Regions from separate parts of the Homo sapiens genome. Here region 2 is linked to region 1. Evidence: promoter capture Hi-C in human tissues and cell types (Jung and others, 2019). All regions are on one chromosome and are shown on one strand. Each heading gives the region's core, a stretch centred on a gene start or on the middle of the fragment in contact. The rest is flanking DNA. Distances are from core to core; before and after follow the strand shown. Region 1 holds the start of PBK (PDZ binding kinase). Region 2 overlaps ELP3 (elongator acetyltransferase complex subunit 3).

Region 1 (7,671 bases), core at 1,857-4,356:
TGGCGAAACCTCGTCTCTACTAAAAATACAAAAAAATTAGCCAGGTGTGGTGGCGTGTACCTGTCATTCCAGCTACTCAGGAGGCTGAGGCAGAAGAATCGCTTGAACCTGGGAGGCGGAGGTTGCAGTGAGCAGAGATCGTGCCACTGCACTCCAGCCTGGGCAAAAGAGCAAGATTCCATCTCAAAAAAAAAAAAGAACGGAAGAAAAGAAAATGTACATACCACATATATAAACAAAGCAACTCAATGTGTTTACTTCTTCGTAACATATTTAAGAATTTTTTTATTTTAAAAATTATATTTCTTTTTAAAAAATTAGGTTTCCTATTAGATTTATTTATTATAAAGCAAAACTGTTCCTACATGTCTATAAGCTCATTTGTCTATAAAAAGTTGGGAGGCAGACAGATTTGCTTAAATTTTTTATAGAGCCCTTAATAATAGCATCTTTAAAAACTGTACTAAGGGGAAGAAAATCATCTCAAAGGCCCAGCTTTAACTATTAATGACAAGCTTGTTCATCTTGTTTAAAATGTAGCTACAATCACTATTGTCTTCAGATTTACCTGTCCTGAGAACACCGAAGAGCCCCTTTACATGTGTTTGTCAAGAGTATAATAATTTTATGAAGTGACCCATTTAACTTGACGGTAGGAACAGCAGAATTTCTGAAACCAGTTTCAGAACTTTGGGAAAGGATAAACTATTTAGCAGAGTGGGTTGCAGGAGGTATTTCTACTTCGGAAATAATTTCCCCATGTCATTCTGACTCCCCTTCTTCCATCTGTGTTATCTTTCCCCATGGGATGCTGTGATGTGGCACCTCAGAGATCTTCTAAGATTTTTTTTTTTTTTTGAGACAGAGTTTTGCTCTTGTTGCCCAGGCTGGGGTGCAATGGTGCAATCTCGGCTCACTGCAACCTCTGCCTCCCAGGTTCAAGCAATTCTCCTGCCTCAGCCTCCCAAGTAGCTGGGATTATAGGCATGTGCCACCATGCCCGGCTAATTTTTTGTATTTAGTAGAGATGGGGTTTCACCATATTGGTCAGGCTGGCCTCAAACGTGACCTTAGGTGATCCACCCGCCTTGGCCTCCCAGAGTGCTGGGATTACAGGCGTGAGCCACCACATCCAGCTTCTTCTAAGATTTCTATCTACCTATGTGAAGCTACTCTTCATTCACTCAGTCAATATGCACACACTGAGCACATACAATGTGCTCTAACAGTGCACTGTTCGAGCACATACCATGTGCTCTAACAGTGCACTGTTCTACACTCTGGAAATAGAGCAGCAAACAAGACCCAAACAAGTATGAAGATAAACATATACTATTTCAGGGGAAATATATATCAGTGAAGGGAGCAGAAGGCCTTGGGAAGGGGCTTAATATTTGAGTTTAAAGTGGTCAAGAAAGGTCTCCTTGAGAAACTCATTTGAAGGAAGTGAGGGAGCAGGCCCAAGCAAGTATCTAGTGAAAGTCTTCCAGAGAGAGGACAAGAAATACAAAGACCTGAGGCAGAAATCTTCACGAAGAGGCGAGCTAGCAAGGGGGAGAATGAGACAAAGTCAGGGAGGCTGAGGGTAGGGACTGGCAAGTCAAGTAGAGCATTGTAGCCACAGGACTGTGACTTCTACTCAACTGTAGTCACAGTCAAGATTTCAGCTTGTACTGAGAAACAGAAAGCTGTTGGAGAGTTTTGTGGAGGAGTCAAATAGGTGGGTGGATACGGATCTAGAATGCAAGCTGAAGATTTAAGTTTGTGGGATGGCAGCACGCAGACGTTATTAAAGCCAAGAGACTAGGTAAGATCATCTAGGGAGTAACTGTAGAGAGAAGAGGGGTGAGCCCTAGGGCATCCAAGCATGAGAAATGAAAAACAAAGCAACCAAGGAGGTGCCAACAAAGTAGGATGCAGAAAACCCTGGCGCGTAGAGTGTCCTGGAAATCTTATGATGAGCCTTATGAGTCTCACTGCCTTTTCCCGCTCACTCTACGGAGGATTTGATATTCAGAAGCAGCACGTTTTAAAAAAGAAAACCTATCTCTAAAAACAACTAGGTTTAAACAGAAGTCGTAACATTTCATTATGTTCTCTTACGACTGAGTCCCACCTTCTACTCTAAGCTATTTGCACCTCAATGTACCATGTCCTATCCATTTCACAGTTGTCTGAGGGCCACTTTTTTCCAGACTGCACACTCAGGTTTAGGCATTAACTGCTGACAGATAGCTTTTGGCCAGTAGCCCAGACTCTGCTTCAGATTATGTTATGTATTGTATATGCATTCTTAACATTAATTGTTAAATAACCATACTAATTCTAAATCACAAGGTTCTCATGAAGATGACAGCAAAAAAAACAGTGAATATTTAGATGAAGATAAATTAGAAATGGCAGTAGGATGACCGTGAGCAGAATTTCATACTCTGTGGAATACGTAAGATATTTTTAACAATCAAGTACTGTTTAAGAGGCAGCATTAAAGTGAGCAGCGCTCAAGCAAGCTAATCTACAGATTTACCGGGTCAAACGTCAGTGACCTTTGGGCCCTAAGCCTGGGACCCTGGGACTCAACAAATACCTGGACACTACTGACAAAGCTACGACGCGGACGGGCAGCAGAAAACGGAAAATTAAAAGAATGAGAGAAAAAGTAAAGGAGAAAAGAGAAACAAAGTAGATGTAGAAACTCCAAGGGGAAGCAAAGAGAAAGTGTGGGCCGCATGACTCTCAGGTCCTCTGCATCTCACACGCTCAGCAGGGTTCGGGGGTGGAGGTCAGACTGTTTACCCCAATCCAGGGGCTCACAAGGGGCTGGCTGCCAAAATCCTTCTTTGGCTGTAACCAGATCCTCCCCTGTCACGAAAGCCCCCGCAGAGGCCTCGGCTCCGGGCTCGGCCCCCGCCAGGGCTCGCAAAAAAAAAGCTCCTCTTACCAGAGTCTCACCGCCTGGAAGGAAAGGTCGGAGGTGAAAATAAGTCGTGGCCAAGTACCTCTTCAAAATTGGTCCCGAGCGGCCCCCAGCGAGACCCTGCAGCTGCCTCTAGCACCAACACATACGCCCGGCAGCTGCCGTTGCAATTCGAACCCTCCTGGCTTTCAAAAAGTCGCGCGCTGCGCCAGCTTCGGCCCCGAGCTACGGGGCGGCGTGAAGGACACGCCCCGCCGATTCGCCGTTCCTCCTCCCTCTCCCAGGACTCCCGGTGCCCGCAGGCGCCAAAGACGAGGGAAGGAAGGAAAGGCGCGGGGAGCACAAACTTTTACAGGAACCACCAGCCCTTCCGAGGAGCACAGCCCGGTGAATAGAACACAGTTGCCTGTGCTGAAGGCTGAAGCTCTCTCCAAACGCTCACATCTGTGTTGAATGTGTCGTGATTATGACGTCAATTTTATTATAGGTTTATGAGGCCTTGAAACACTGTAAAGACAAATGCGTAGCTTAAGGAACAATCATCTTTAGCCGAGGGAAAAAAAAGATATTTAGAAATGTTGCTAACTCATGTAATTGCCACATTCAATTCAACATTCTTTAATTTATTCAACGATTATTTAGGAACATCTGCTCCCCAGGAGGGGATGGGCCGTGGGGCAGACCAGGGGCCCAGAGCTCAGGGCAGGGGGTACCGCTTGTGGGGCCGCTCATTTCTGTTTCGAGGTACACCAAGGGTTAGAAAAACCACAGTAAGCAAAGAACTTGCATCAAGATCGGGACTGGAATCCATTAATGTAGGTGACAAAGCCCCGCAACTCTGATCAGGGCTTCTCCCCAGGAAGATGTGCCCTGAGGCATCCCCCGAGGATGGCGCAGGTCCTGAGGGTCGTGGGGATCAAAGAATATGAGCCAAGACGTATAAATCACATGTTGGAGTTTGCCTTCCCCTATGTGACCACAGTTCTGGATGATGCAAAAATTTACTCAAGCCATGCTAAGAAAGCTACTGGTGTGCAATTGCAATCCAGTGTGCGCCGACCAGTTTTTTTTTACCTCTCCGCCCCAAGAGATTTTTATTAGATATTGCAAGGCAAAGAAATCAAACCCCTTCGCCTTTGATCAAGCCGTATTCAAGTCCTAGAATGCCACCCAATAGATATTGCTTAACAGCTCCAAACTATATGTTGCAGGGAAAACCCCAAAACTAGGGTACAGCCACAGAGGCCACCTGGCTTGGAGCAGGAAGGAATTCGAGAGCAGCCCCATAGAGTAAAATGAGAGCAAGTTTATTAAGAAAGTAAAGGAATAAGAGTGGCTACTCCACAGGCAGAGCAGCCTGGAGGGCTGCAGATGGGCTATTTTTACCGTTATTTCTTGATCATATGCTAGATAGAGGATGGATTATTCATGAGTTTTACAAGAAGGCCCTGGGGATTTTCTGGAACTGAGGGTTCCTCCTCCTTTTAGACCATGTAGGGTAATAAGTTCCCCGGGTTGCCATAGCATTTGTAAACCGTCATGGCACTCAGGGGGAGTGTCTTTCGGCAGCTAAATCATTATAATTAGCCTGTAATGAGCAGTGAGGATGACCAGAGGTCATCCACTAGTGGATTTCAGTCTCAATCTTGATCCGGGTTCTTTGCCTGGAGTGGTTTTTCCAACCCTGGTGTGCCAGGAAAGGGAACGCTGAGTGGCCCCCTATGGGGTGCCCTCTTGGTTTTGGTGGGTTTGGGCCACCCTCTTTACTGCATCTGTTTTATCAGTGGGGGTCTTTGTGACCTCTATCTTGTGAAATCAGTCCTGCCAAACTTCTGTCTCATACATACAGGCTTAAGTCTTTACAGAAAAAGGCATCTACGTCTGAGGGAAGAATAACAGTCCCCATGATATCAGTGGGCCAGGGGAGGTCCTCAAATGCCGGTGGGTCCTGGACCCCCGCAGGTGTCCAGACTCTTGACACCGTCTTGAGAATGGATTCAAGGATGAGTTGGAAAATAGTGAAAGTATGGAGATTTGTTGCAAAGGGAAAAAGTACACACTTAAGAAAGGGGATTGCGGGCGTACTCAAGAGAGTCACACAGTGGGGTGTGCGGTTTCTCTCTGTATGGGTTTCTTCAACCAAGGGGTGGAATATTTATGACAATTCTTGGAAAAAGATGGAGATTTCTTGGAACTGTGGTGCCACTCGTTTTTACACCAAATATGGGTGTTCCCAGAACTGTCATTGCGCTGGTGGGTGTGATTTAGTGTGTTAATGAGCATATAATGAGGTCCTAGGTGAAACCTAGGTCAAATCCAGCACCACTTTGGGTCTAGTTGGTCTTAGCCAGCTTGGTGCACACCCTGTTTTTCAGGGGTTCATCAGCCCATAACCCCTACTCATGGGAAACTGCTGTCTGGAGTTTTTATTCTCCTGTGAACACCCTGCATTATTTCTGTCTCACCCAGATTAAATGTTGGTTCAGTTACTAGCCGACCAGGTGTTCACACACTAGGCACACCACCCCCCAAACCATGTTTGTGGCAACTAAAGTAAGGACTCAAATGTCCCTCACAAGGCAAAGGTTTACAGTGTAGATGTCTGCTTCACATTGCCCTGTGAAGCGTGAATTCCTGTAACATCAGCAATTCAGAATGTTCTGGTTAATCCATCACGAATGGTCCAGAGGCATTCTTATTACACTAATATGGTGTCATCACAAACTACTGCCAATGGAAAAAAAAACATGAAGAAGATGATAATGATGATGATGAGGACGATAATTTGTAATCTAGCTTTGATGTATGTAACATGTATACTTGACCTTGAATTCACTGTACTGAAATTAATCATGCATGCTGGATGCTTTCAAGTTGTGTTTTAGAAAACTTAAATAATATTTCATGAGTATACTCTATTTTCAATTGAAATATTAGATTTTCTTTAATAGGATAAGTAATGGTTTTTCATCAGCTTTTAAGTGTAAAATAATAAAGTTGTCCTTCATCAATTAAAAAAAAACACATTTATAGAGCACCTACTTCTACCCTTCAAAGTCCAATCTTTCAGCATCCCTAAGCTTCCTTAGCCCGTCTCAGGAGGAGGCAGGGGATGGGGGCTAAGGAAACTTAACCAAATCACTCCTCCTCTCCTAAGTCTTTACCTTCACCCCCTTTAATAGTCATTTTTCTTCCAAATCAAACAATAACAATAATAGCAAATACTTATTTAGTATTTATTGTATGTCAGGTCTTGTTTCATGTATTAGCTCATTTAATCTTCATAACTCTATGATGTAGGTTACTATGATTATAAACTCCATTTTTCAAATGAGGAAACTGAGGCACAGAAATGTTAAGTAATTTGCCTAAAGTCACAGGATTTAACAATTGGTAGAGCCGCAATTCGAAACCATGTTGCCCTTAGACTTCCTCTTTAACAAATGTGCTTAAAATCTCTTCCACATTACACATGTGTGCACACACACGCACACCCCTCCACCTCTGGGGCCTTTCCATTTTTGGTCACCCTCTTTCAAGCATAGAAGCACAGTGTCTCACCTCTCTCTCTCTCAACTCTCATTCTAATTTTCTTCTGCAGGCATTATATTATAGACCTCACCACCTTTTCTTTAAAGATCTATAGTGTTCTATACTTTTTATGAAGTCCTACATTTTTACAAGCCTATTTTCTACTCTTACTGGCTAATAAAATCCTGCCTAAAGCCAGAGCCTGAAAGCTTCATAATTAACCATTGCTAGTGAAAAGAAACTCCAGGGAGATGAGGTTATCGATGCAGGTATAAGATGAGGCCAAAAGCATGCATGAGAGAGAAGGCACTGGTGTAAAGCCTTACTCATAACCATCCTGTTCCCCATCTTCTAATCATAAAACTGCCTCCAGAGATTAGCCACAGAAACATCTGAACTTCACAAGTGCAGTGTTATCATTTGTGAAATGCAACCATGAACTCAAAATCTTGCATACTAGTCAGTTGTCATGGAAAATAGCTTGCAACCTAGATCATTATTTATTTCAGTGTATAAATGGCCTGGTTTCCTTGGTTTAGCAAAAGAGCCCACAATTCTGACTCTTGGCTGCCTGAGCCCAAAGAAACATCGGCACTGTCATCTTTTTACGGCATAAACTCTAACTTCTGGTCCATGCAGGACCTCACCTTTTGATTTTCAAGGGCCTAGTTTGAAAATGAAAAAGAAAATTAACTTTTTTTCTCTCTTTTTTACTGCTATTGCATTTTAATTCTCTTTGAAGCTAGGTAAATGCTGCCAATTGTGATATAGGAGTTAAGAAGAAATTAGGCAGATAGTGAGGGTAAGGAAGTCCTCAGTAAGGTTTTCCTTTTCTTGAAAAGCAGCCCCCAAATCATCTTCTTTTCTAACAAAGAGCAGCCTGTAAAATCGAGCTGCGGACATAGACAAGCAAACTGGAAGCTTGCCTGGATGAATGCTGGCAGCTGTGCCAGTAGGAAAAGGCTGCCTGGGGCTAGGCATGTCCAACATGGTGGTTCCATCTATCCCTTTCCCTGTCAACCATGTGCACAGTAAGGAGAAGGCAACATGCATTGGCCAAGTAGAAACCCCATTTGCATTATAAAAGATTAGGGTGGGTGGCCAGCTATGTAAACGTCCCACCTGGTCCAACCAATCTTGGGCCCTATGTAAATCAGACACTGCCTCCTCAAGCCTGTCTATAAAACCCTGTGCACTCCACCACGGGACAGAAGTCCCACTAG
Region 2 (7,671 bases), core at 1,611-4,110, 350 kb after region 1:
TTTGCGGCCGGGCACAGTGGCTACACCTGTAATCCCAGCACGTTGGGAGGCTGAGGCACATGGATTGCCTGAGGTCAGGAGTTCGAGACCAGCCTGGCCAACATGTTGAAACCCTGTCTCCACTAAAAATACAAAAAATTAGCTGGGTGTGGTGGCATGCACCTGTAATCCCAGGTACTCTGGAGGCTGAGGCAGGAGAATCGTTTGAAGCTGGGCGGCAGAGGTTGCAGTGAGCCGAGATCACGCCATTGCACTCCAGCCTGGGTGACAAGAGAGAGACTTCGTCTCAAAAACAAACAAAAAAACCACATCTGGGTTTGTTCTCCACCCACCCCCCCTTTTTTTTGGCCTTTGGTTAGTCTAAGGTTGTGTGATTTGATTTCCCATTTTTACTAAAGAGCATTGAGCAGCCCAGGATGAGCGTGCTCCTGCAGCCAGAGGCCCAGGCTCCGGCATATGCATTGCCTGTGATTTTCCCCCTTTCCCGAATCCTTTGAGTTAGCAGATTAAGCCACGTGGTGCGTATCTTTTGGAGAGGGACATGGAATCAAAGCAGAGGATTTCTTTCTCATCATGAGGGGCTTGAGGACATTTGGTTCAGAAAAGGATCAGAGAGATGCTGTACCCCTGGGTCTCCTCCGGGTTGGAGATTCACAGGGAGGCCAGGGGCTCTTGGCAGCCAGCCTTGGAGCAGTAGCCAGAGGTCATCCTTGGGAAGGGGGCTTTCCCACTGAGTGCTGAATAACTCTACTCCTCTCGGCCCATCCCAGAGCAAGCAGTGTCCTCTGCCTTTAATGTAACCCCTTTCCATGGGTCTATCTATAATTGATCTAAAGTGTGTGCAGTGGAAGTCATTTTAATAACTTACATATAGTAAAGCTCGTGTACAAATAAACAGGCTTGTTTTCTTCTCCCCAAAGGGGTGGATGTCCTGGGGCAGAGGCAGAGGGGAGGCCACCACAGAAGCTGTTCACTCTAGGCACTTTGCAAGGTATTCTTTTTTCACCTAACTCATCATCATTGCTGGTTGAATGGGGAAGATAAAATATTTATCCTGCCTACAGAGTAGGGAAAAGGTCATGTAGGAAAGCTCAGGGTGTAGATGAGTGAACTTGGGAGGATAAAACAAAGCCAGTGTTTGGACTCCCCCAACTCCTGCCATTCTTTCTTGAGAGAGTCTCGCTGTGTCCCCCAGGCTGGAGTGCAGTGGCACGATCTCAGCTCACTGCAACCTCTGCCTCCTGGGTTCAAGCAATTCTCACCCCTCAGCCTCACGAGTAGCTGGGATTACAGGCACTCACCACCACACCCAGCTAACTTTTTGCATTTTTAGTAGAGACAGGGTTTTGCCATGTTGCCCAGGCTGGTCTCGAACTCCTGAGCTCAGGTGATCTACCCTCCTCAGCCTCCCAAAGTGCTACAAAACAAAGCCTGCGTTTGGACTCTCCCCACTCCTGCCGTTCTTAATGCTGGCTCTGTAGCAGGGCACCCTGAGGCCGCTGCATGGAGTGAGTTCCTGCACATTCCCCATCCCAGGGATTTGGCAGAACCCCACGCAGGCCATCGGGTGGAGCACTTGGTTCCTTGTACAGCCTGTGGGCGCCTCTCCTCTGGCGGAGGCAGAGCAGTTAGGCTGAGGGCTCGGAGACGGTCCAGGCAGCCTGCATGTCAGTCCAGGAGGGTGGCTGACGTCAGCTCTGAAGGATGATTGCTTTTTCTTGGCTGGCTAACAAAAGGAAAGTTACTATGACAGAGGACTTTCTGGGAGCCCTGCTGAGCATGGAGAGGGGATCAGAGCAGAGCAAGGCCCTCACCCAGCCTTGGTGGCTAAGTGCAGGGGTAATGCCTTTCCCAACCTGTTCTGCAGGTTGTAGAAACAGGAGGAAATTTTTCTTTCAAAAAACAAGAGGCAGAAAGAAATTTAGCTCTTTAGGTGAGCAGAGGTTAGAGTCCAGACTGACTAGAGGTGAAGTTCCCTTCCCTGGATGCCAGCACTTCTCAGAGGACCTGGAGACAGTGTTCCATCTCAGGGCTGAGCTCGCCATCTCAGGCCTGCTGCGTCTTATTGAAAATAAGGACAAGAACTTCAATATACAGCTTTCCTCCAAAAGGCCCATCGTGAGGCCTGAGTGCCCCTGCCCAAGGTGGTAATCGTTTCTAGGGCACACCCCCTGTAGAAAGGAAAAAGTAGAAGGCCCAAGGAGCCTGTAGCTCCGTGGGAATCATGATGAGAAATGCTTAGATGTACCCCAGTAAAGCAGCTCTTTTAACCAGCATGCTTAAGAAATCAGGGCACTCTTGATTGTTGAACTTTCTGGTTATCCAAGGACTGTCCAGTCCTGTGTTAGATGTAAGGAACTCTTCTCTCTCACCTCTGCAGCCATTTATGGTAGACAAATATAGGTTGATGCATATTTTTGGAAGTAAAGCACTTTGACCAACAATTACACATCTTCCATCTTAAAATTAGGCCATCATTTTCATTTGACAGAGGACATATAAAAGAGCAAAACTAAACATGTCTCCAGGAACTGAGCTGAGCAGAACCAAAAGGAAATGTTAGAGATGTTTTCTAAGTTCACGTGAGTAGAAAGCTCGAAACTCAGAAGTCTCCTGGGTGGAAGGCGGAGGTTGCAGTGAGCCAAGACCATGCCATTGCACTCCAGCCTGGGTGACAAGAGCAAAACTCCATCTCAAAAAAAAAAAAAAGAGAGAGATCTCCTGGGTGAATTGTCCCTGCTAAAGCTGAGTGATGGGTGCAGGGAGGTTCAGTGCACTGTCTTCTGCACTTTTGTGTGTTTGACATTCTCCAAGATACATTGTTTTAAGTCCATGGAAAACAGTATCTGTTTTGTAAAAGTAAAATAGAAACATAAAAAGCCAGAAGTATTTCTGAAAGATTTGGGGCAGTTTTTGTTAGATAGAGATAATAATATAAGTCAGGAAGCTGCCTCTTAATCTCTCAGCTAACAAGGTAGGAAATTTGTACCTAGGTTAAGAAGTCATCCTGCCCTTCAGCTCTTGTACATTGAATCATTCCATTACCCAACACCCAACATAGAGCCAATTTTTTTTTCAAATACATCCTCCAGGAACACATTTCTTTGTATATACACAACATAAGAATAGCTGAACAGCATATGAGAGATCTGCAAACATTTATTGCATCTTGATTATATGCCAGACACTGATGATAGAAGCCATTGACTTTAAAGAGCTGACATCCTAGGGAGGGAGACAGACCTGCGCAGTGTGATTACTAAAACAGTGGAACTCTAATTAAGGCACACAGCCAGCCTGGAGAGAGAGTGCTGTGAATTCTGGCTTCTTTGTAGATAGGGGAAGTATCTGCACAGGTCTCCTGGTGGGGGATGAGTGGGAGGGTGGCTGGGAGGGCCTTAGCAGACAGAATGGGCGGCTGCTGAGGGAAGCGCCCAGAGGCAGTGGCTGAGCCCGCGTGGTGATGCTGGGCTGGTTTGCTGATCCTGGACCTAGTCAACTGTGCCAGGAACTAAAGTTGAAGGGTCTGGGCAGGAAAGACTTTGTGGATCAGGCTAAGGAATTTGAACTTTATCTTGGGACACATCATTAGTGATTCTAAGCAGGAGAGCAGTGTGTTCAGAATTACTCCGAATTCTGATTTTAAATAGTGGCTTGACCTCATTTGTTTTTCTCTTCCTGTCCTCAAGCTTCCTTGTCAGTTATGATACTTTTAGTTAACAAGTAACAGAAAACTCAGCTCAGTGACTTATACCCAACATGGATGAACCTTGAAGACATTGTGCTAAGTGAAATAAGCCAGTTATAAAAGGACAAATATTACATGATTCCACTTACATGTGGTATCTACAGGAGTCAAATTCATGGAGACAGAAAGTAGAACGGGGGTTGTCAGGGGCTGGGAGAGGGGGAGCAAGTAGGGTTGGTGTTTAGTGGGTACAGAGTTTCAGCTTTACAAGATAAAGAGTTCTGGAGATGGATGGTGGTGATAGTTGTACCACAGTGTGAATGTATTTAGCAACACCGAGCTGTATACTTAAAAGCAAAAATATCCTCAAAATGGCTTAAACCAAATGGAAAATATTTCATAAGAAATATATAGAGAAGCTTTGGGACTGATTAATTCAGGGTTCGGCAATTTCAAAAAGGAGCCAGGTGGCTCTGCCTTCTCACTCTTCATCACCACTTCAGCCCCTTGGAAGACAACTGCCCCCGTCCGAAATTACCTTGCAAAGCAACATCCAAGAAAAGAGACCGTCCCTAAGTCCATTTTCGATTGCTTATAACAGGATACCTGAAAGGGAATTTATTTATTACAGTTTTGGAGGCTGAAAAGTCCAAGGTCAAAGGGCTGGATCTAGTGAGGGCCTTCTTGCAGGTGGGGACTTTCTGTGGAGTCCTGCGGTGGCACAGGATAGCACATGGCATCACACAGTGGTAGGGCTGCATGTGCCAGCTCAGGACCCTGTTCCTCTTCTTGTAAAACCACTAGAACTCATTATCCTGTTAGTCCATGAATAGATTAATCCTTTCATGAGGGCAGAGCCCTCACACTCTAGTCACCTCTTCATAGCCCCACCTCTCAGTAATAGGGATTAAGTTTCAACATGAGTTTCAGAGGAGACAAATACCTAACCCATAGCACTCCCTGTGTCTCTTTAAGAACAACAAAAGCTTCCAAAATCAGAGTCTTCAGCATCTTGGCATGAATGTCTAGCAGCCATTCCACATGCAGCCTGACTGGAGCCCCACTCCTGATTCCTCTTGCAAGCTCTTCCCACCATCTCCTCACTCCCAGGCAGTGGTGGCTCCTGTTTCTCCAGACTCTTCCTTTACTCAGGCTAAATACCCTGGAGTCGCCTTGGCTCCCGTCACACCCCACATCCGTTGGCAGATTCTTTTCACTCTGCCTTCCACATATGCCCAGGCTCTGGGTACTTTTCACCACTGTGACTCAGCCCGAGCCACCACCATCTCCCACCTGGATTATTGTCATCGCTTCCTACCTGATCTCCCTATTTCTGCCCTTGGTCACATATCCATTCAGTGAGCAAATATTTACCGTGTACCTCACATGTGACAGGCATCACTCTGGGTACTGGCAGCTCTACAGTGAATAAAACAAAATCCCTGCCCTCCTGGAGCCTTCATTCTGTTCTCAAAACAGCAGTCAGATCATGTCCCTCCTTTGACCAGCATCCTCTCATTCTTCCATCTCACTCAGAATAAAAGCCAGATTCCTTAGGAGACCTGCATGATGGTGCCTCCTTGTTCCTTGAGTAAGTTGAGTGCACGCCCGTCTCAGGACTTTCACATTTGTTTTTCCTGCTCCCTAGAATCCTGTCCCCCCCATGTAGCCTCAGGCCTTTCTCTTTCATTTTATTCAAGTCTCTTGATTTGGAATTTGACAGAAAGATGGGAATGAGTTGCCCTGAACAACTGGCAGTGGAGTGGCCATTTACAGAGAGGGAGCTTCCTGCGGAGGGAGCTTGCGGGGCAGGTTACCAGGAGTTGGGTTTTTGACCTGCTACACCTTCCATGCAATTTAGACATTCAGGTGGGTCATGCAGCACCTGTGGACGAATCTGAGGCTCAAGGAGAGCTCTGAGTGACAGATTTAGGGGTTGCCAGTGTATACATAGGTTTACGCTCAGTGTCACAGGAAGCGCGTGCACAGAAGAGCTGCATATTGCAGTGATTTCAGTTAGGGATACGAGGAGGAAGCAGCAAAGGAGACTAAGGAAGGGCAGCCAGCGAGCTAGAGGAGAATCAGGAGATGCACTTCTCCAAAGCCCAGTGCAGGGACGTGCAGAGAGGGAGGGAAGGACGGAGGGAGTGCCTGTGGCAGGTGCTGCTGATCGCTCTCCCCGCCCAGCCTCAGCTGTCTCACTCCCAGGCACAGACAGCCGGGCTGTTTGAGGAATGCGTCCAATATGCAGGGGTAATGGACCTTTAGTACCAACTTCAACTAGTTCATGTTCCTTGAATGTTGAGACATCATAAAAAATATAATTTGGTCTCTGTTCCTGGTTCCTGACATAGAGCTCCTAAAACCCTTGTAATTTTCTGAGCTGCAGGGGTTCAAGGGGCATCTTTTGTTCTAATCTGGTGACTCTTGGTGGGCTCCTGGGTGGGGACCTGTCACCAGAAAAATGAAGCCATGAGGAGAGGGTTGAACCTTCAGCCCCACCCTCCCTCCTCCGGGGAGGGAAGGGGGCTGGAAATGGAGTTAGTAATTGATCATACCTACACAATGAAACTCCATAAAAATCCCTAAAAGATGGGGTTCAGAGAACTTTTCATTTTGGCAAACACATCCACTTGCTGGGAGCATGGTGCACCCCAACGCGGTGGGGACAAACACTTCTGTGCTCGGGACCCTCCCAGACCTCACCCAGTGTGCCTTTTCACCTGGCTGTTCACTTGTATCTTTTATCATATCCTGTAATAAACTGGTAAACGTAAGTAAATGTTTCCCTGAGCTCTGTGAGCCATTATGACAAATTATCAAATCTGAGGAGGGGCTTGTAGGAACCCTCCATTTGTAGCCAACTTGGACAGCAGTTGTAGGCAACCTGCAGCCCCTCTGCTTGCAATTGGTGTCTGAAGTTGGGGGCAGTCTCTGGACTGAGCTCAGAACTGGGGGGCCTTGCGCTCATCAGAGTAGGTAGGGTCCAAATTGAGTTAAATTATAGAACACCCAGTTGGTGTCAACAGAGAACTGGACAGTTGCTTGGTATGGAAAACCTACACTTCTCTTCACAAACCACACTTCATGAGCCAGGGCCATCCCAGCAAAGCTGCTTCTTTGACACCAACTGATGAGGAAAACACTTTTTCCTGTTAAGCCTTGTATACTTCCAACACTTCTGACAGTAGCCACAAGTGTACCTTCGCTACTGGGGCTGAGTGGAGATCCCATTTTTTCCCCCACTCTTCTCTCTTTAAAACTTCTGGGAAACCGTCTATCGTTTGGCCTCATCTGGAGCATAGGCAGCTCAGACAGTAAATCCACCTCTTCTCCTTCACCTGTAGCACCTAAGGTGGTGCCTGGTGTTGCCAGTAGGGTAGTGAATACGCAGGCTCCAACACACGGGTGCACACGTTTGCTGTTGCCTGTGAGTGTGTGTGTCACATACCCTGAGCTTGAGTTAAAAATCAGGGAAAGAGTCTTCTTCTCTCCACTTAGCAGTTTCTATATTTTAATGCAGCCTGAATTCAAAGTAATAATGTTCCAAACTTATTAAGCTGAGATTTTATGTGGGAGAGAATTTGGTCTCTGGGTGGGAGAGAGTGTAAGGCTGAGGGAAGCACATGCCGACTTTTGAGAATTGCTAAAGTGAATGCTCCTTTTTTAACTTCGATTTTTCTGCAGGGGTCGGCACCAGGAATTATTATAGAAAGATCGGCTACAGATTACAAGGCCCGTACATGGTGAAGATGCTGAAATAATGGCCACACCAGTCCACTCTTCTGCAGTATCCTCCCTGGCAGAACACGGAGAATCAGGATTTCTTAAATACTCAACAGAGAGGCTGAGCAGAGCAAATGGGGGGCTTCACCCTCATCCCGCAGCTGCAGAGACTGGAAACTGCCTTCAAGGCCACGGCTGGTCATCTGCTGACCACACCCCAGATCCGCCCTCTCCTGCGTGCACCCCAAAAAATCACT

What was found. Contacts are between HindIII fragments. The study calls those that stand out against the background at their distance.
Region 2: a contact is called between a fragment that was not itself captured here and the fragment with the promoter of PBK in region 1, in 1 of the 25 tissues and cell types used here (dorsolateral prefrontal cortex).

The regions. Positions count from the first base shown.
Region 1 is chr8:27,834,711-27,842,381 of GRCh38, forward strand. It overlaps PBK (PDZ binding kinase), which reads right to left and starts at 3,107. Exons shown (of 8, transcript NM_018492.4): 1 at 2,942-3,107. It also overlaps the pseudogene LOC100130612. RefSeq lists enhancers at 3,217-3,276, 3,347-3,396. The HindIII fragment of the contact is 7,721 bases long and covers 1-6,327 here.
Region 2 is chr8:28,182,274-28,189,944 of GRCh38, forward strand. ELP3 (elongator acetyltransferase complex subunit 3) reads left to right here. Exons shown (of 15, transcript NM_018091.6): 15 at 7,376-7,671. The coding sequence ends at 7,452. LOC105379343 (a long non-coding RNA gene) reads right to left here and starts at 260. Exons shown (of 2, transcript XR_949614.3): 1 at 163-260. RefSeq lists an enhancer at 2,963-3,465. The HindIII fragment of the contact is 3,059 bases long and covers 1,332-4,390 here.